7 separate regions of the Homo sapiens genome follow, and all the other regions are linked to region 2. Evidence: promoter capture Hi-C in human tissues and cell types (Jung and others, 2019). All regions are on one chromosome and are shown on one strand. Each heading gives the region's core, a stretch centred on a gene start or on the middle of the fragment in contact. The rest is flanking DNA. Distances are from core to core; before and after follow the strand shown. Region 1 overlaps TG (thyroglobulin). Region 2 holds the start of ST3GAL1 (ST3 beta-galactoside alpha-2,3-sialyltransferase 1). Region 3 has its middle 490 kb from the start of LINC03024. Region 4 has its middle 400 kb from the start of ZFAT. Region 5 overlaps ZFAT (zinc finger and AT-hook domain containing). Region 6 has its middle 240 kb from the start of ZFAT. Region 7 overlaps TG (thyroglobulin).

Region 1 (2,700 bases), core at 86-2,585, 700 kb after region 2:
AAGGCTCAGAGGAATGCGAAATTCTGGTCTCCACTGGGCATCTGGTCTTGTTCATTCGCAGAGTACGATTCCTGCCTCCGGGCTCAGTCAGATTCTCTAACATCTCCCACAGGCAGTTCTTTGGAAATCTAAACACTGACTCACAAATGAGCCATGTATTTCATTCTGTCCTGCACTAGGGAGGGTGCTCCTTAAAAGAGCGGGCCGTACCGGGCATGGCTCACACCTGTAATCCCAGCACTTTGGGAGGCTGAGGTGGGTGGATCACTTGAGGTCAGGAGTTTCAGACCAGCCTGACCAACATAGTGAACCCCGTCTCCAGTAAAAACACAAAAATTAGCCATGTGGGGTGGCGCATGCCTGTAATCCCAGCTACTTGGGAGGCTGAGGCAGGAGAATTGTTTCAGCTTGGGAGGCAGAGGTTGCAGTGAGCTGAGATCCCATCACTACAATCCAGCCTGGGTGACAAAGTAAGACTCTGTCTCAAAAATAAAATAAAATAAAATAAAATAAGAGGGGGCCGTAGCCTAGCAGAGCGCCTGATGCATAGCCAACCACCACAGGTGTCTGTAATGAGGGTGATCTGGTGCTTCCCCAGTGAGGATTTCTCCATACAGTACCTTCCACATTCTGGTTACAATGCCCCTTTACCATATATTAAGACACATCTGATCCTTCTTCCCACTGGGCAATCTGGGTAGCATGGGTGGCTAAGGCATTTGAAGTTAGACTGGTTGCTAAGAAGTTTGAGTGTGTTTAGTCATTAAGGACAAGGGTTAATAAAGAAGCCAATTAACTCAGATCATTAAGGCTTTGACAATGGCATTAGCCCTGCTTGAAGGCTCTTAAGACCTTTACTTATGATCTGCTTGGTCAGAATGTGTGTCCACAGTTACTGGTTGGGCTAGGGCAATATAAAAGATGGGGCATGAGTCAGAAGGACCAGTGAAGCTTGCTCCCCATTACAACATGGTTCTTTAAAATTTTCCAGCCAAACAGATATTGTAAGCAGTAGCCTTCTTGAAGGGCAAAAGGACCTACTTCAGATGGGCAAACATCATTGCCAAATTCAAGTGCAAACCATCACCCAGCACATAAATAACTCACAGCAGCAGGTCAGCGAATGAGCTGCCCACAGGATTCCAGCCTTCTGGTGGCCCCAGGGAAGTAACTGCCTTCTGCCACTTCTCCATTTTAATTTTCAAAAAAAATCCCCTTAGATTCAACATCCCAAAACAAAGCTTGTGGCTTTTCCTTTTCAAATTTATCCTCAAGAATCCATCCAGAAACCAGACCTAGGAGTCATTCTTGACTCCCCCCGACCCTCACCTCCATATCAATTCCTTCACCAAGTTCTGTGGATTCCACCTGGTAAATATTCCTCCAGTCTCACCCCATCTCTTGGCTGTCCTCTCCGACACTTGCTCCATGTCAACGTCGTCTCTTGCCTGGACTAGTGCAGTAGCCTCCAAACTCGGAGGGCTGCCTCCTTGCACTCACTCTGCTCTCCCCTCACCCATTCCATTTTTTCAGAAATCCAAGTCCAGTGGTGATTATGATATACCCTTCCCCAACCCCAAGCTTCACATGCTTGCTGCAATATTGAAACATACTTACACTGAAAAAAAAAATTACTCTTTGCTATCTGAAATTCAAACGTAACTTGCTGTCTCGTATTTTACCTAGAAACCTGAGTCGCTAAGCTTAGGCCCTCTATATGGCCTCCAAGGCTCCTTCCACTGTGCCCAGAGAAGTCACTGGGCCTGCGACTACCCAGGTCTACTTAAGTATCGGAAAATCCCTGATTACAGCTGGGCTTCCAGTAACCAACCACCCAACCCTTCCCATGACCTTTCAATACCATAATTTACTCAGAGACATGCTTTCTTACAAAATGAAAAGGCTCCCATTTCAGGAGTAAATTTTTGTGTTTCTTTTAAACAAAGAATGCTTATTCTGAACTTTTGCATTTAACTCGACTGCCCTCTTGTGGAAATAGCTGTGAATTGTGCCTCAACCTCAGTGTGGCACACACCAGGGTCTTGGATGCATTCACCAATTCCTTAAGCACTGATTCCAGACCTGCTGTGTGCAAGGCTCTGTGCCATGCACTGTAGGGGAACAGAGATGAGTTACATTTATGTGGGATACTAAAAGGAGCCAGACAGTTCTAGCACCTAAGCTTACTAGGGTGAGTTCCTTAACCTCTGTGTTTCAGTAATCATTTGTATAGTAATGACTATAATTATCTAATTATAAGTATTAAGGTAAGTTAAAGGATATAAAATTCCCATTATATAGTAAGCACTCAGGTGATCTTGAACTGAGAACACATTGGTTTGCAGCAATAAGTACTCAATAAAACTGGCTGTTTGAGATTTATACTTGCTCTCAGGCAGGCCAGGCCTGGAGGGGGAAATTCTAACCTACATTTGCTGAAGCTGGCTGATGCATGAGAATTACCTACAGAAGTATAGTAATTTACAACTTTGTAAATTTGCACCCATGGTTTCATAGATGAGGCCTCATCAAATCTTCACTATGGTGTAATGAGCAGGGGCTTGTCTTCCATTTGACGGATGGGAACACTGAGGCTCTGAGAGAGTAAGTGGCCAGGTCGCTGTGCTAAGCAGGGGCAAAGGCAGAAGGCAGGTCCCAAAGGCAAATGCTACAGGACCAGGCAGGTCATATAAATGGATG
Region 2 (3,020 bases), core at 1-2,500:
CACACATCCGTTGAGTGGCAGTGCAGGATTTGAACCAAGAAGTCCGGCCATGCGGGCCCTGGCCTGAATCCCTGTACTACAGCAGCCGTCTGATGAAACAAAGGCTGGGGGACTCTCCCCTTCCACTGCAAAAGGTTGATCTCTCTCCAGCTGGAGCAAGGGGCGCTGGAAGGATGCAATGACCCCAAAGGCAAACTGTGCCTCTTTCCTCTAACATTCCTCCGAAAAGTTGCGAAAGAGGTAGTCTCAGTAAGGGGTTAAGAACCGTAAAACCAGATTTACATGACTTGTGTACTGCATTTAGCATCAAAGCGCTGCACTCTGCCTTTCAGCAAAAGAAGTCTCCACCGCCCCCGCTTCCCTGTAAAAGAGGGAGGGCTGAATAACTGCAAGCCTAATCCGCAAACCCCAAGCTCCAGCCGCAGCCTCCGCATCTGGAAGGAAAAAGCGGCGGCAGGCGAGCCAGGGCAAGGGCTGGGCCAGGGCCGGGGCCGGGACCAGGGCCGGCCGCAGTGCCCGGCTCTGTGGCTCTGAACGCGGTTCTGGCCGCAAGAGTCGTCCAGCCCACGCTCCTCCCTTCCCCCTCCCTAAATCCCACCTCGAGTCCCGCGCCCTTAGAGGAAGTGGGTGGCTCTGCCCGGTCGCCAGCAGGGGATCGGCCCCTTCTCCCCACCGTGCCCCCGACTCGAGTTCTTCTGGGCACTGCCATCCTCTCGGTGCGTGCCCGTCTTCCTGCTGAAACGGACCCCAGTGGCTCCCGGGCCTCCCGGGCGCTCTTCCTTAGCCCCGCCAGCTTGAGGGCCGCGTCCAGAGAGCGGGGAGCTCCTCTCGGGGCGCCGATCAGGTCCCCGCGCCGCAGCCGCCGCCTCCGGCGTCTCCCAGGCTCGGCCTCTGCCGAGCCCGCTGCGGTCCACGTGGCTTGGCAGAGCTAAATTCGGCTTGCAGGAAGCCCGGAGCCAAGGGAAAGCCGAGCCAAGTTGGGGTGGGCGGGGCCGAACGGAGGCGCAGAGTCGGGAGGGGCGGGCACTGGGCGGAGGAAGGGGAGGGCCGCGCGCAGGGGAGGCGGTGGCTGGGCTCTGGCGCGCCCTGGCACCCGGCCCCGGCCGGCCAGGGAAGGCGGCCCCTCCTCGGTCGCCCCGCCTTTCACTCCCGTTACACCCGGGGGAAGGTGTTCCCGAGCCCTCTCCCACCCTCATCCCGCCTCCTCGCTTCCTCGGCTCCAGCCTCCGCCGGCGGAGCCCACTATGCCAGACAGTTTCGACACTTTGCAAAGACAAAGAGCCCTAGACCGGAGGGAGGAGGAGGAGGAAGAAGAGCGGAGAGAGAAGGAAGAGGCGATGTGAGCTGGGAAGGGGGCAAGTGTCCGGGACACCCACACCCCTGTATTCTCCTCCGAACCCCTTCATGCCCAAATCCCGGAAACTCCAGCGTGTCTCCAGCCGTGGTGAGTGCGCGCGCGGAGGCGAACCCTGCTCGGGGTGCGCGGGGGCTGCGTCCGCCTGAGTTGGGGCTCGGGCAGTTTCCTGTGGATTCTCGGAGTGGAAGGTTGATTGTCTGGACCCGGGAACTGAAGGGGTGGGGAGGGGACTAGGAGGGTGTGACAGTGGAGCTGGGACTGAAGACCCCGGGATTCTAGTGGAAGACATTCGAAGGGAGACCCCTTCCTTGGCAGCGGCGACCACCCAGGGCTTTGGGAGAGGAAGAAGGTCGGGGTGGAGGTTCGGGCTTAGGGGTCTTCGGCCGACACTGGAGGAGCTGCCTGGAGCTCTGTGGGGAACCTACGCCAAGTCCCGGGCAGCGGTTCCCGAAAGCAGCCCCAGTGACATTGCACCCGGCGCCGGGCTGGGATCTCCTCCGCTGGGGCCGCCCGTGGGAGGAGACCTCGCTGGGTGGCCGGGCTCAGGCGCTCTCGAGCGGATTTGGGGTCACAGGCTGGGACACCGCGGAGGCCGCCAGTGTTCTGGACGAGCGGCCGTGGGACAGTATCCGGATCGAGTCCCCCAATCCGCTGCAAGCAGGCGCAGATCCGGGAGGTGGCTATCGGCCCCGGGGACGCCGTCAGAGCGCGCTGCTCCGGATCTGGGGGTGAAGTTGACACCCGGGACAAGAGAGCTGAACGCGGCGTGGCGGACAGTGGGGGACGCGGGTGGGCCAAGGAGAGCACGGCCGGAGTCGTGTTAGTGGCAACTCGAAACTCTGAATCCGCCCCAACCCCGTGAGGCGTCGCAGCTCCCAAGAAATAATCTGACAAAAGTTAGCAACTTGCCTGTGTCTCTCGTGTGTGTGACCTGCGTGGGGGCAGGGCCACCCCTTCTGGGAGCGCACGGGGACGGACAGCGGTGACCCTGGGGCGAGGCGCTCTGGTGAGGGTACAGTTAGTTTGGAATCGGGACGGTGGCGCAACTTTCCGCTCCTCCTTTCTCTGCGCGAGTGTTTAAGCGTGACCTTGCGGGAGGAAGCGCGGCTGAACTTGAGATGGGGGTTGAGCTTGCGCCCCGGCTTGGCACAGAGACGTCGGAGCGCGCATTAGCCTGGCCTTGCAGCCGGGTCTCCCAGGAAGCGTGTGGGGATCGTCTGGCTCTGCTCGTCAGCTGGAGCCCTGACTCGCTCCTCCCTCCTACGCTAGGGTCCTCGGCGGCCGTACCATGCGCGGGGCTCGGTGGTGTGTTGGGCGAGGGGACACGTGCGCACCCAGAAGCGCGCAAGGGGGTGGGGGTTGGGCAGGTCACTGCGTCTCGCGGGCTGGGCGAGTCCCGCAGAGGGAGTCAGCCGTGACCCTGAGGGCAGTGACTGGCTCGCCGCGTCCCTGCATCAGGCATTCGCCCGGCTTTCTCGTGATTGTTTCCGGGCACCCCTGGCCTCTCCCGACTTCTCCCCCTCGCGGGTCCCCAAGCCCCGCAAGTTTGCGACGAGCTGGTTCTCCAGGGAGACAGCGAGCGCCCACCCCCGCTCTGCGGCTGGGTGTGTGTGGTGAGAGGAAGAGACGGGAGGAGGAGGCGAGGCCGACTCGCCAACGAGGA
Region 3 (3,083 bases), core at 238-2,737, 600 kb before region 2:
GAAGATGGGAAGGTGGGCCCAGAAATGAGAAATTCTGTGGAAATCAGATTAACTGACTCACCCAGTACCATGAAAAAACATTCATAGCAGAGTTGTGAGGAGTACTTACATCTAAAATAGAAAAGAATGGTAGGTAAGAAAAAGCAAGTGCATGTTTGGGAAACTGTCTAGGAAATGTCAAATGCTTTATTTTATGTGACCTCAAAATGAGAAGCTCTCTTTCCCCACGCATGGTGTAATTGGACCTGATCAAAATTATTCAATGGTTTGAATTTGCTGCAGCTAGGAAATGGGGAGAGAGAAATGGGCTTAAAGTCAGTTAAACTTGCAATCTAAGTATAGTTCTGCAGCTTTCTAGTTATGAGATGTTGGGCAAGTCTCTTGACTCATTTAAATTTCAGTTTCCTCAAATATAAAATGAAAGAGACAGTATTTTGTTTCATCTTGGTTGTTCTGAGGTTTAAACACAATAATATATATGAAGGAGGCTTATAAAATACAAATGCAATTTTAAATGTGGCTAAAAGTAGTTAAGAGATAGTGTATCTGGATTCTTAAGGTTTGCAGGTGCATTCTTGTAAGCTGTTATGAATAAAAATGTCTAAAATCTACACAAATAAGTGCTGCTTGTCTAAGACCCATATTAGATTTTACCTAATTATGTAGTATTTCTGTCTCCAACTATGACTGCAAATTTTTTGTGGGTCAAGCCTCTCCTTTGTTCCTTCTTTTGTATCACTGCACAGAGCCTAACTTAGCATGGGGGTGGTACAAATTCATATTGATCAAATGCAATTAGACATTGTACTAGATAATTTGGAATATGTTAATATGTAGACTGGTGATTGTTAGTTTAGTTTTAACCTGAGAAAACTGATGCTCAGAAAGATGCAGTGATTTGCTCAAGACACACAGTTATTAAATGATGAAATGGGATATAACCTCTGGTATTTCTGACTGCAAAACTCATCTTCTGTGAAGAACTAAATTAAGTTGTATTTAATTCCTGAGCTGCGGTTCCTTCGTAAATGAGCTTAGGTTTACAATCTGAATTTGGTCTTACAACTCTAGGCAGTGCTCCGGTCTGCCACGTTATACACTGGGCACACTCTGTGAAAGTGTAAGAGGTATTCTGGGTGACCTATCCAATTAGAAGAAGAACCAATGTCCTATATATTAACCTCAGAGGAAGAAAAGACTTCTTCTTAGTATTTTCACAGTAGGATGTTGTACTTAATAACCCTGAATCTGAAAAATCAAGAACATAAAAAAAGTCCTAATTACAACTTTTCAGGCATCTGGGGGAGGTCCAAGAATTAGCTATTTTTTCTTCAGTAAAATGAGAGAATGTTAGACCTGGTAGGTAATCAGAGATTGTCTAGTACATCTGGCTTTAATATCAGATGAGAAAACTGAGTCTCAGTGAAGTCAAATAACATCTCCCAGATTATACAGGAAGTTAGTGGCGGAGCTGGAAATAGATTCCATTTACCTTTCAGGAAAAAAAAACAAAAATTCTTTCCACCATGGTTTTTGGCAGTCTGAGATAAAACATTAAAGCCAGACAACTCTTACAAAAGTAAATTGAAACACCAAAGTTTCTATCATATTTTGAACTTATTCTATCCCCTTCCCCTTATACCATTGTACTGCACATAAAATGGTGTATCAATAAATTGTTAATTAATTATTTGATTAAAATAGTAGATTGGAATTTGCTTTAGTCATTCACAGGAGGAAAAATAAAAACAAACAGAGGAGTTTTGAATGCAATATATCTAAGTAGTTCCTCCCAGACATGATCCTCCAACAGGTAATATAATAAATAGTGAGGGAAAAACAAAACATGGCCCAAAGTTACTAGAAATAAACAAAACCAGGCAGACTCTGGCTGGAAGACTGGATGACATGCTATAAGTGGCCCTTTTTATTTTTATTTTTTCACTTTTAGCCTGAAAACAGGTTAAAGTCAGTGCCATGTTGGATGGCTACATCAAACCAACAAAACACAGCTAAAAAAATAAAAATAAAAAACAACAATAAAAAAAACTACCAACCAAAACTACCAACCCCCCCCAAAAAAATAAAGAAATTTACCATCTTTCTGGTTCATAGAACCAAAGGACAGAGAGTGGAGCAACCACAATGATTGGAAAATAAGGGAGCATGACTGGAAGGAGGGAACAAAAATTTCAAGTATAAATTCTGTCCAAATCTCAAGTGATTCATGAACTACGCAAGTGTGAGACAGATTCTAGCTAAGGTGGAAATTTAAGCTTTTACTTAAAAGCTAGAGTTTGCAATTTGAGTCTAATCAAATTAAATCCTTGATAAAAACAAAGCAAACCGACAGATAAAATTATATTTCCGAAGAATATAACATCTAGAACCTCCAAATCTAACATTAATATGTCCAAGACATGACAACAAAAATTACTCAACAGATGAAGATCCAGGAATGTCATTAATTCTCAAAAGACAATCAACATCCATCAATCTTGAAATGATTAATGGGAGTTATCAAATATTTTAAAGCAGTTACTGTAATTATATTCAAAAAAGCAAGGAAAATAAACTTGTAGTCAATAAAAAGATGGGAAGTCTCATTAGAGAAATGGAAACTTAAAGAATGAAATAGAAGTTTTAGAATTGAATAACACTATTTGAAAAAATAAGCCTATTCCATTTCTAAGATTGTCATATATTATAGGTCTGTCTTGCAGGAAAAAGAAAAAAAAAAAGAAAGAACATGGCTGAGACTTATTGGAAGTTAGAAGGAGGGCAGAACATACAGTGCACACCTACCTGGATGAGGAGCTGCAAGACTTGCAGAGGGTGCCGAGAAGCAATGGGTTTTCCTTTGCCTAGAGTGCTATTTCCCAAATTAAATTCCCTAAGATGTCAACAGATGTTACCAAAAAATGGTATATGAAATTAATAAAAGAGAGGTTTTTAAAATCTGCTTTTTAAAAACTGAAGTACTTCTTGAAGCTCTCAAAAACAAAACAAAACAAAACATGCAAATGTGTGATTTGAGTCTCTAAGAAGAGGGATGCAAAGCAGGTTCCAAACATATTCAACTA
Region 4 (2,978 bases), core at 148-2,647, 740 kb before region 2:
ACCCTGGGGTTACCTTCCATTCCCTTCTCTGAGGTCTCTTGGCACTGTGGACCCCAGTCAGAAAAACTCCCAAACAAAATTGTTTCTCAGTATTATTTCTGAATATTCTAAAAGTTATGCAGTGTGATTGAGGGTGGTGGGAAATACAGAAAATGTTAACTCCTTTAAAAGTTGCCTTAAATCTTTTTGGATTTAGGAATATAAATAAAAACAAAAGCTACATCTAAATATACAAATGAAATAAACCCCAAAACCTCTTTATTTTAAGGAAAACAATCCTGCTAATAAGGAAGAAAAACCCTGCTCATAATTGCTGATTAGAAATAGCACTTTAACAGTGTCTGACATTTTTTATGTTAGAAATGGCTTTGGGTAAAATTTCTTTTATCTCATTAGTCATTATGAAGTAGTACATTTAGTTTATATAATTATTTTCAGGTTACCAAATGTTCTGCATCTGTCATATCATTTGATTCTAACAATGCAGTGAATTAGGATAATTTGTAGGCATTTATTCAGCGTGTCATATATACCAGTTCTGTGTGTAGTGTAGGGAATTCAGGTGTGAATCGGTTCCAGTCCTGCCCTTAAGGAGCTCAGATTCTAGTCGCATCAGTGGGTATCATATAGTGTGGTGCCTTCTGAGAGAGGACCCTGCAGGCTGCTGGGGGACTAATAGGGTTTGAATTTGTGTCCCCACCCAAATCTCATGTCAAATTGTAATTCCCAATGTTGGAAGGGGGGCCTGGTGGGAGGTGATTGGGTCATGGAGGTGAACTTCCCCCGTGCTGTTCTCCTGATAGTGAGTGAGTTCTCACAAGATCTGGTTGTTTAAAAGTGTGTAGTCCCTCCCCCTTCACGTTCCTTCTTCTTCAGCCGAGTAAGATGTGCCTGCCTCCCCTTCGCCTTCCACCATGATTACAAGTTTTCTGAGGTCTCCTCAGCCATGCTTCCTATACAGCCTGTGTGACTGTAATTAAACCTCTTTGCTTTATAAATAACCCAGTCTCAGGTAGTTCTTTATAGCATTGTCAGAACAGGCATCCAGAGGAGGGACTCAGAACTCTAAAATCCGGGAGGGGTGTGTGTGTGTGTGTGTGTGTGTGTGTGTGTGTGTATGTGTGTGTGTATACTCAGGGGAGAGATGACTAAGTGGAATCTTGAAGTGTAGAGATTTGGGAAATGTCCAGCGGAGGAAGAGATGTCACAGGCAGAGGCCACAGCTGGGATACTGGTGTGGAGGCTGCACACGCCCTGCTGGGGAAGCCCAAGTAGCTTAGCATGCTTGGGGTGTAGCAGGTGAGGGAGGGGTGGGCTGACCACCCCTCTTTCAACCATACTGAAGAGTTTTGACTTTTTCTGAGGTCAATGGAGAGGCCTTGAGGGGTTTGTGCAGAGGCGTGACCTGAGGGGCTGTGAGGAGGCATGATTTAGGGGGGATGGAGGTGAAGTTTGTGGGGTGGGGTGCATGGGAGACAAGAGCCTCTAATGTCGTGTGGCACTGGTGCATCCATCCCTTTGAGTCTGTGCCTCTGCACTTCTGGCCTCTGCTGGGCTTCTTTCTTCTTACCTCTGAGATGCTCCCTTTCCTCTGCAGAGATATAAGCACTTTTTCTACCTCATTGAGGTCACTAAAGACCCCTGAGCTGAGAGGCCTCCCTGAAGGTGGGATGTTTTTCCACTGCAAAGAGAAACTGCTGATGGGGCACAAACAACATAAAAGGCAACGCAATCTGGCCCCTGCAGAGATGCCGGGGGAGGCCAGCTGCTCCTAAGCTTCCTTCTCCTGTGAATCTGGAAGAAACTCACACCAGTAGCAAAGCCTGCAGAACTGTAGGCTTGTGGCCCAGCCCTGCCTTTCCAGACAACCCACTTCCTCTTCCTCTGCAGTTTCCCACCTCCAGGGGGGCTGGGTCCCGCAGAACCAGAGAGGCAACTCCTGACTGTGACAGCGGCTCTGTCTCCCTTTGATGCCAGCGAGGGCCTGGTAGGTAGCACACGAGAAGACACCATGGGGGAGAAGAGTCCATGATTAGAAGTCTGTGTGTGCGTCCATGCACCTCCACGTTTGCATGTCTCTGAAGCAGTATCTAGAGTATCTAGAGTGGTTGAAGCATAGGCTTCAACCTTCAGTGGTGTCAGACTCCCTGAGTTCAAATTTTGGCTCTGCCACTTAGTCTTAAGATCAAAAGAGACAAAGAAGGCTGTTACATAAAGGTAAAGGGATCAATTCAACAAGAAGAGCTAACTATCCTAAATATATATGCACCCAATACAGGAGCACCCAGATTCATAAAGCAAGTCCTGAGTGACATAGAAAGAGACTTAGACTCCCACACAATAATAATGGGAGACTTTAACACCACACTGTCAACATTAGACAGATCAACAAGACAGAAAGTTAACAAGGATATCCAGGAATTGAACTCAGCTCTGCACCAAGTGGACCTAATAGACATCTACAGAACTCTCCACCCCAAATCAACAGAATATACATTCTTCTCAGCACCACACCACACTTATTCCAAAATTGACCACATAGTTGGAAGTAAAGCACTCCTCAGCAAATGTAAAAGAACAGAAATTATAACAAACTGTCTCTCAGACCACAGTGCAATCAAACTAGAACTCAGGATTAAGAAACTCACTCAAAACCACTCAACTACATGGAAACTGAACAACCTGCTCCTGAATGAATACTGGGTAGATAATGAAAGGAAGGCAGAAATAAAGATGTTCTTTGAAACCAACAAGAACAAAGACACAACATACCAGAATCTCTGGGACACATTCAAAGCAATGTGTAGAGGGAAATTTATAGCACTTAAATGCCCACAAGAGAAAGCAGGAAAGATCTAAAATTGACACCCTAACATCACAATTAAAAGAACTAGAGAAGCAAGAGCAAACACATTCAAAAGCTAGCAGAAGGCAAGAAATAACTAAAATCAGAGCAGAACTGAAGGATATAGAGACAC
Region 5 (2,700 bases), core at 46-2,545, 980 kb before region 2:
CCTGCCACCGCGCCCGGCTAATTTTTGTGTTTTTAGTAGAGATGGGGTTTCACCATCTTGGCCAGGCTGGTCGTGAACTCCTAACTCTTGATCCACCTGCCTCGGCCTCCCAAAGTGTTGGGATTACAGGCATGAGTCACTGCACCGGCTGAGAAGCTTTTACCAGGTATGTCTCCCACCCAGAGTTCTTAATAAACAGCCTCCTTCTAACAGTGAATGTCTCTCTCCTCAGTGGCCCTGCCCTTCACTGCTGGACCTGCTGCGTATGCTTTCAAAAAGTGTGATTCTCCTGCAGAAGGGCCTTGCCCTGCCCTTGCCCCACCATTCTTTCCTCATCACTACCTCTCACCCATTTTTTGCATCGCACAGGACATGCCACAAGGCCCCAGCACTGGAGGAAGTTTGCCCTTTGGCTCATTCCTCTGTGAAGCTCCAAGTGCACCAAGAGCTTTTCCTGGTTTATGGAAAGCATGTCAAAATTTGGTGTGTGAATGTGCAAGTCCACAAAAAGGGAATTCAGGTCTGAAATCCACAGTTTTTGAAATCTGTGCATTTTGGAGATTCTTCAGTGTGACTTCATGCTGACCCTTCCTTCTTACTTTAGACGCTTTTGCTTCTGAAACAGAATAACCCTCTCTGCTGTTTGACAAATAGCTCAGATCACTCCTCTGTCCCTGACCTCCAGAAGGTGAGACTGGCCTTCTCTTCTGTAGCCATCAGCCTTTTGGTATAGATGAGTATGCTCTTTCACAAGGGAAACCATCCACGCCATCATCTTGAAAAGACACTATTTAAAGTTTATGTTTGATGTATCTCTAAATGCAATTGAATCTTCAAAAATGTGCACCATGAAGCTGGAGAAATCTATTGCCTGTTGTCAGCCTAAAATTTGCATAACTAAAAGTATTTTCATAAAACTAGTGAGAGGCAAGGGAGATCTCAATCACCGATTTCATTATCATTGAGAAACTTTTCCTGAGAATGCCATATAGAATACATGATACCACAATTTGACATTCAGAATTTTAAGAAAAAACATAAGTACAAATAAAGTGCTAACTATTCATTTGGTTTTTTGATGCAAAGCATATGAAATGTTTACTTATTTTTCAACACATTTTTTTTTTCTGAATACCAGGCACTTCTGTGTCAGGCACCATGACAGGGGCAGAGGATTTCAGGATGAAGGCAGGCCTCTGGTCTGCCAGGGTTACAAGTCTGGGGAGAACCAAATAGACATCAAAAGTAACAGCAAATATGTTAAGTGCTACAAAAAGTTATGTACAAGGTGCTGTGGGAACCCAGAAAACCAGCAAACTAATTATTCCAACTTTATCAGTTTTTAAAAATTATGTTTTAATTGGATTAATATATTATCCTGTTGTGTAAAACCTGTAACTTAAAAAACCCGTTGCAACCAGAAAGCTCTCTGATTGACTGATACCCACAAGTCAAAGGGAATTAGTGTAACCTCTTTTTGCATTCCTGATGATGAAATAAGTCCTGAAGGCCTTTATAATGTGTCGGTGTGAAAGGGAAATGGTTGTATGTACAAAATACACGAGGCATCTGAGCACCTAGAATGTATAAGGGGCTTGGGTACTCAGTTGAACAAAGGTGATGTTTGGATGAGGTCAGCCGAGGATGTGGCTGTGTAATTTGCTCCTAGTTTCCAATCTAAACTTTGTCAGCAAGGAAGTGAAAGCAATAAAATGATCTCAAATAAGCAGATTGTTTGGAAGCCACACATTTATAAATAGTTCAAAGTAATCGTCTCAGAGTCTCAGCACCCCCTCAGAATGCTGAGTCATCTGGCATTGCTTATGGCATTGCAGTTTTATTTATACTACAACTCCTCCTGTTACCTAGAAGACGTTTTCATCTTTCCACAAGAAAGTTCCACCACAAGGTTGAATGTTTAAATATCTAGCATTAGAATGAATAAGACGGGTGGACTGGTTTCTTTGTAATAGCCATGTGCTTGGCATTACGCAGGTGTTTTCTGTGTATTACCTTATTTTGCCCTGAAAAACTCTACCAGGTAGGTAATTAACATCCCCGTTTTACGGATTAGGACACTGAGGCCCACAGTCTATTTTAGTAATGTGCTCAGGAGTAACACAATTTCTATGAGCTAGAGTTGGGATTTTGATCCATGTCTCTGTAGTGAAAACTACTCTCTGCGCGTTAGTCCACGCTTTCTCATTTTCAAGTGAAGCAGAGGAACTTATTTACCCCTTTGTCCTTTTTCCCCTCACTGCTATGCCTATTTAAGCCTGCAGCTGTATGTTTAGCTATCAAGACTCGAGCAAAATCTTCAATCAAAATGCTGATGGAGTGTAAAGTTAGCAGCCAGAACATTTTCCAGGTTCAGTGGAAACTACTGAACCAAGGGGCAGAGGGAAAGAAGTAAAGCATAGAGTTTCTGTTGGTGGTGTTTGTCTTGCTTTTCAGTTCCAAATTTGCAAGAAAATGAGGAATCTGAGATTACACATGGTTTTCTTGTTAATTTTGAACGTGGCGGGTGGGGTTGGGAGCGGGATGCATGGCAGGGCCATGTGGTGGTGGTAACAGGGGCCATTTGTTAAATTGGTTTGAAATGCAAAGTCTCTGCTAAAAACCTCTTAGTGCCATCTTCAGCTTCATTCTATTTTAGATGTTTAAAGCACCTCTGGAAAAAAAAGGAAATTGGATTGTTTT
Region 6 (2,891 bases), core at 103-2,602, 900 kb before region 2:
TTATAGCATTATTGACTGTAATAACTAATAGAGTCCACCCAGTCCAGGCATATCTAGAAGCCTATCAGCTGGCACTCTGTAAAGAAGAAGTGTGGATAATCCCAGCACTTTGGGAGGCCGAGGCGGCCCTCAGAGGATAGGATGGAAAGTTCATTTTGAATTTTAAAAGGGGTGGAGTGGGGAGATGGATTTGGAATCAAATGCTCTTTTTTCTTCAGCCTTGAAAGATGGAACTGAAGAACAAGGGGAAAATCATCAGTGACAACAGTTAATGAAGTTAATTCTTACAGTCCTTGTGAGTATTATCATCATTTGTATTCTATAGTAACCAAGGTCAAGAGTTCGAGACCAGCCTGACCAACATGATGAAACCTTGTCTCTATTAAAAATACAAAAATTAGCCAGGTATGGTGGCACGCACCTGTAATCCCAGCTACTCAGGAGGCTGAGGCAGGAGAATCACTTGAACCAGGGAGGCGGAGGTTGCAGTGATCCGAGATATTGCGCCACTGCACTCCAGCCTGGGCAACACAGCGAGACTCTGTCTCAAAAAAAAAAAAAAAAAAAAAAAAAAAAAAGAAGTGTAGCTATGTCGTGAGCGACTGAATCGTGGCCGTGTCTGAGGTCAGAATCCCAGGTTGGAGTCATCGGTTCACCCCGTAAGAGCTGGGAACATCGCATGTTCTCTCTGAGCCTCAGTTTTTCCATTTCTAAAATGGGGATCACAGTAGCGCTTTCCTCATCAAATTGCTGTGAGGCTTCGATAAGATGATGCATGTCAATTTTCCAGCATGTGCAGGCATCCAAGGAGGGTTAACTTACAGTCCTTGTGAGTATTGTCATCATTTGTTTTCTATAATAACCATGTTGGATGCATGAGTGGCAGAACAACCTGGAGGGTGAGTTCCCTTGCAGGAGCCCCAGAGGCTGGGGGAGCCTGGAAGGGACTTCTCCATTTGCAGTGATCAGGAGCGATGGTCAAAGAGCGATGTGAATGCAGAACGGAGACTACGAAGCAAGACCAGAAGGCCAGGGCCGGAGGGACTGAGGGAGACAGTCATGCTGCTTCATTTCACAGATGAGCAAACTGAGACTCCAAGAGGGAAAGGGGATCCCCTGATGGCACAGAGCAAGTGACTCTCTGAGACACTCCTGCTTGGGCCCATTAGTGAGGCGTGTGTCTTCAAGGGTCTGAGATTCCTGCCGCAGTCCCGGGAAGGCTTGTCCCTTGTGCTTCACCCTCTGAGAGTAGCCTCCTTCCTGGCTATTGCTGACTCACTGCCCTCATGACACCTGGATTCCAGAGGCTCAAAAGATAAAGCTTGTGCCAGTCACAGACCTTCCACCAAATCCTAGATGTCAGAGAGGGAGGACTGGAGGAGGCTGTGGTTGGGAGAATGTTCTGGGCTAAGGGGAGCAGGGAGGAGGAGAGTCCCACAGACGTTGGAAGCTAATGTGCTGGGCACGCCTGCCATGAACCCTGGATCTGAACAGCAGCTCTTAACTTTGTAGGGCCGCTCAGCTCTGCGGGTTCTGATGCAAGCCATAGACCTACCCCCCAGAAAACTGTGTACACACACAAAACTTAAGCACAGTTGTAAGGCGTTCATGGGCTCCAAGTGAAGGATTTTTGTTCTAATTTAAATTAGTTGTGCAGCTTTGGGCAAGTCATTTGAGCTGTTGGCACTGCAGCTTCCTTCCATTGAAGGATGGCAATGACAGTGTTCCCTGAGTGCTGATTACGTCAGCCTCAGCCGCGGGGGCTCCCCCACCCAAGCCGACCTACCCCAGCTGGGTGCCAGCAGAAAGTGGATGTGGGGGACTCATGGACTGCCCTGAAGAGCAGAGGAGTGTGGCCCTTCTCTGCTTCTCGGATGGCCCCACTTCACAGCCTGGGCAGTGAGAAGAGAACAAGTTTGAACTCAGAGGAACCTACATCCATCCCTCAGCTCTACTAGCTGTGTGCTCTGGAACACATCGCCTTTGATTTCAGAGCCTCAGTGCCTTCTTCTGAAAAATGGAGGTACTAACATGCTTACAGCTGTTGTATAGATCTGTTACCTGCCTAGCACCTCACCTGACCCAGAGCAGGTGCTCACCTGAGTAAGACATCGTTTTTTAGGGAGCCAGGAGCTGTGGTCTCTTTCCCCATCTCTGCCATGGACTCTCTGAGTGACCTTGCATTGTTTGGGCCTCAGTTTCCCTGGCATACAGTCAGGGGTTTGGGGTTGGAGGATCTCCGAGGTCCCACCCAGCTCTCATGCATTGTGGGTTGGTGTTAGCCCTGGAGAAGGAAGGTGTCAACTCAGTATGGAGGAGTCTGGGATTGGGGTGATGGATATGGAATGAAGCTACATTCTCCAGCTTGCTGGCTCCGCAGCCTCAGACAATGCTCAGTCTCATTGAGCTTCAGTTAGCTCGTTTATAAATGGGGATGTTTGCACCATCTGTAGAGTTGATACAGTATTCTACACCTTGTCATCTAGTATACTTAGCACACAGCATGTACTCAGTATTTGATAGCTGATACTACTCTGTTTGCTCAAAGACAGTGTTTTGGTTTTTCGATCCTTTGAGGATTCTTGATAGAGTCATGGCCTTCTGCAACCATGTAGGGTTTAGCAAATGTTTTTGGTAGAGCCAGGTAGATATTTTGTTTTGTTGGCCATATGGTCTCCACCGCAGCTATTCAGCTGCACCATTGTAACATGAAAGCAGCCATAGATAGTATGCAAATGAATAAGTATGGTTGCGTTTTAATAAAGCTTTATTTATAAAAATAGGTGGTGAGCCAGGTTTGGCCCACAGGCCATAGTTTACTGACCCCTGTCCTACATGCTCTGATCTCCAGGGCCAGACTCACAGAAATTTCCAGGGTATTTGTGTTATAT
Region 7 (2,924 bases), core at 316-2,815, 670 kb after region 2:
AGTTTCAACACTGCTGTTTCATCTGCTTCTCATCAAGTCTTTGGAAGCTGAGCAGAGTGGGTGGTGGTGTTCCTACCATCCTATTTTAGAAAAAGGACACTAAGCCCAGAGATTTCCCTCACTTGGCAAGTAAGTGGTTAAGTTCTGGGCATAAATTCGTTCTCTAGGAGCTCTACATCAGTACTTCGCTGAATTATGAATTGTTACAATCACCCCGGGAGCTAGGGAGGGAAAGAAGCTGGTGTCCTCTGTGTGTGTTGAGAACCTGGGACACTGTAAGCATAGGGCCTTGGCCAAGATGCCTTTAGGAAAAACATGATAGCATGTTTTGTTTATTTTTCAAAGAGTTCTTATGAAAGATATTTTCTTGGAGTCTCAAAACAAACCTAGCATTAGCTAGGACAAAATGTGGCCTGATCTTATGATTAAACAAAACAAACTGGGACACAGAAAAGGTAAGTAAATAGCCCAAGGTCACAGAACCAGGTTCTAGCAGGCCCAGACAAACACCCAGGCTGAGAACATCATGTGAGCTTTTAACTAAGCTGAACGTATTGAACAAAAAGAAAAATCATCTCTGACCAGCGGGGACAAGTCCCGGCTCCAATCCTGTGCTTCCAGACCCTTACTTCTAGGCAGGCTGGGACGAACAGGTCTTTTGGAGATGGGTTTTCTTGGGATCTAGCCTGTTTCCAACTGGAAAGCAGCCCACTGGTTCGAGATTTCTCGCAGGTTGTCGGGCCTGTGGGAGAGAGAGGTGCTTGTAAAGGACTGGTCGTGGGAGCCAAGAGAAAGAGGGGATCCCAGGCTGACCCCACCTTTAAGGGTCATGAGCCTGGGTGAATGCAGGTGCTCTTCATAGAGAGGTAGAATCTCTGAGGACAAAGACTCATGTGGGACATGCCAGCTTTGAGATGTCAAGTGGACTGTGGATTACACATGGCTGAGCCTCAGAAGAGGGGTTGGGGCTGCAGGTTCAGAGGCGAGGCGGTTGCTGAAACTACAGGAGTGGCTGAAATTGCCCAGCAGATGTACAGAGGGGGAGAACCAGGGCTCCTTCAACAGTCTCAGCTGTTTCCTTCCACCTGCAAAGCTGGGAGCCTTCCAACTAGGAAGTGCCAAGGTCAGCGCAAGCTTGCAGGCCTGGGGACTTGGGAAATGCGTCTGGCTGCACCCGGGACCTGGCTGAAGGGCTGGGCCATGGAGTCTCCAGCGGTTAGGCAACCACAGCTGACTAGACCAGTGATGCCCACCAAGGGGGGTCAGGAGGAGAACTCTGCAGTCTTCACTTACACTGTGGAATCTGCAGAGAGCGGGCAGTCAGTGAGCCAGGGATGAACCCTCCTTTCTCATCTACACACCAGCAGTGCCCTGGAAAAGAGCCAAGGGGAGAACATTCAGGAATTGCACTAGGGACTTACCCTGGAGTGTCCCATAAACAACTTTCCTTCTTCACTCATAGCAGTGCAAGCCTGGTCGCCTTCTGTCCCCAGTCTAGACCCCCAGCCGGACATTGTCCACAATCACTCTGATGCCCCCAGCAACCACCCACTTGTCTTTCAGGCTGGTAGAAGTTTCCTGCTCCTGTTACACAAGTGAGATAACTGGAGGCCCGAGAAGCTAAGGAATTTTTCACCAGCTGCTAAAGAGGAGCCTAAGAGTCCAGCTCACTTGCCTCCCAGTGTGGGGCTCTGTCCTCTAAAATAAAAAAGGGGTGTCACTTGGCCACCTGAAGGTGCCTATCCCTCCTTACCAGTCCCAGCGTGGCACTGCACAGGCTCCCAACTTCCAAACGCATCACACTGTGGCATGTAGGGGCCCGACCGCAGAAGGGCGGATGCTCCAGCCGAGTCGTCCGGGGAAAAGCGGCGTCTCTGATAGAAGCTTAAGGCTGGAGTCAGGGAAGGAGAAAAGCAGAATATGACCACCTGCTCTGTGTGGGCTCTGTAGCTGAGAACAACCACGTATGTCCTGGTTCCAACATAAGGAGGCCTTCTTATTTATTTATTTGACAAACATTTCAACCCACAGTATTACAAAGGCTCCTTGCACAGTAGGCAGGCACTCAACAGATTGTCCTTTAAGAATAACACTTAGGCTGAAGCTTGAAAGAATATTATAGTAGACCTCTACAATAACTTCCATACAGAAATCAGTAGGTCAGTGAAGTGTCTTCAGGCACATGAGATAATAGTAATAATAGGTAGGCTCTATACTCATATGTTATGTGTGAGGCACTAGCTAAATACATACCTTAATTAATTTAATCCTCACAGCAATCTGAAGAAATGTCATGTTATCCCATTTAATGGATGAGAAAACTGAGACACAGATGGATTAAGCAACTTAACCAAGGGTTCACAGACAGAAAGAAGAGAGGTTGGCCTTGGAACACAGGAGGGCGATTGACATCAGCTGCCCTCGTAGGTTTCCCTACCAAACTCCTACAGTTTAGTTTTTAACCCCTTTGAAACTTGGATATCCACAAAAATCATATCAGATCTTCACAGCAGCTCCATGAAGCCAGAACTTTTACCCCAGGTGAGGACACAGAGGCTCAGCGAGGGAGGTTATATGATGAACCACTGGCCACCCCACTAATGAAACTGCATCTGTCCTCAGCTCTTGCAGTCCCCGACCCACTGGGCTTTGCACATGGCTTTCCCCACCACCAACATAGTACATAGTGTTCCCATTTATTGTGTTAGATTTGTCTCCTCCGCACTAGCATTTAAGCTCTTTGGTGCAGAGATTTGTGTTTATTTTGCATGTAGAGGAGTGTCTGGCTCATAGTAGGCACTCAAGAAATCACCGATTGGGAAAAAAGCGTGAATGAATGCATGAGGGGGAGAGGAAGAAGCAAGGGTGGGCAGCGGGTGGGACACACATCAGTTTGGTGTGGGTCTTACCAGGCCCAGTCTGAT

Evidence for each region. Contacts are between HindIII fragments. The study calls those that stand out against the background at their distance.
Region 1: a fragment that was not itself captured here is called in contact with the fragment with the promoter of ST3GAL1 in region 2 in 2 of the 25 tissues and cell types used here (dorsolateral prefrontal cortex and hippocampus).
Region 3: a contact is called between a fragment that was not itself captured here and the fragment with the promoter of ST3GAL1 in region 2, in 1 of the 25 tissues and cell types used here (dorsolateral prefrontal cortex).
Region 4: a fragment that was not itself captured here is called in contact with the fragment with the promoter of ST3GAL1 in region 2 in 1 of the 25 tissues and cell types used here (dorsolateral prefrontal cortex).
Region 5: a contact is called between a fragment that was not itself captured here and the fragment with the promoter of ST3GAL1 in region 2, in 1 of the 25 tissues and cell types used here (dorsolateral prefrontal cortex).
Region 6: a contact is called between a fragment that was not itself captured here and the fragment with the promoter of ST3GAL1 in region 2, in 1 of the 25 tissues and cell types used here (lymphoblastoid cells).
Region 7: a contact is called between a fragment that was not itself captured here and the fragment with the promoter of ST3GAL1 in region 2, in 1 of the 25 tissues and cell types used here (aorta).

Annotation. Positions count from the first base shown.
Region 1 is chr8:132,874,943-132,877,642 of GRCh38, reverse strand. The region is part of intron 5 of TG (thyroglobulin); the gene reads right to left. Among named protein-coding and RNA genes, the nearest start is that of TG, 9.3 kb to the right of the region's middle. The HindIII fragment of the contact is 5,473 bases long and covers 1-2,700 here.
Region 2 is chr8:133,570,117-133,573,136 of GRCh38, reverse strand. ST3GAL1 (ST3 beta-galactoside alpha-2,3-sialyltransferase 1) reads left to right here and starts at 1,250. Exons shown (of 10, transcript NM_173344.3): 1 at 1,250-1,444. ST3GAL1-DT (ST3GAL1 divergent transcript) reads right to left here and starts at 2,565. Exons shown (of 2, transcript NR_186509.1): 1 at 2,267-2,565; 2 at 1-2,079. RefSeq lists silencers at 501-560, 751-1,240 and an enhancer at 2,610-3,020. The HindIII fragment of the contact is 11,226 bases long and covers 1-3,020 here.
Region 3 is chr8:134,172,527-134,175,609 of GRCh38, reverse strand. No RefSeq gene overlaps it. Among named protein-coding and RNA genes, the nearest start is that of LINC03024, 490 kb to the right of the region's middle. The HindIII fragment of the contact is 5,339 bases long and covers 1-3,083 here.
Region 4 is chr8:134,310,497-134,313,474 of GRCh38, reverse strand. No RefSeq gene overlaps it. Among named protein-coding and RNA genes, the nearest start is that of ZFAT, 400 kb to the left of the region's middle. The HindIII fragment of the contact is 3,497 bases long and covers 1-2,978 here.
Region 5 is chr8:134,550,675-134,553,374 of GRCh38, reverse strand. All of the region lies in intron 11 of ZFAT (zinc finger and AT-hook domain containing), which reads left to right. Among named protein-coding and RNA genes, the nearest start is that of ZFAT, 160 kb to the left of the region's middle. The HindIII fragment of the contact is 4,514 bases long and covers 1-2,700 here.
Region 6 is chr8:134,470,798-134,473,688 of GRCh38, reverse strand. No RefSeq gene overlaps it. Among named protein-coding and RNA genes, the nearest start is that of ZFAT, 240 kb to the left of the region's middle. The HindIII fragment of the contact is 3,682 bases long and covers 1-2,891 here.
Region 7 is chr8:132,896,616-132,899,539 of GRCh38, reverse strand. It overlaps TG (thyroglobulin), which reads right to left. Exons shown (of 48, transcript NM_003235.5): 12 at 1,754-1,891; 13 at 1,294-1,371; 14 at 630-742. Among named protein-coding and RNA genes, the nearest start is that of TG, 31 kb to the right of the region's middle. The HindIII fragment of the contact is 4,255 bases long and covers 1-2,924 here.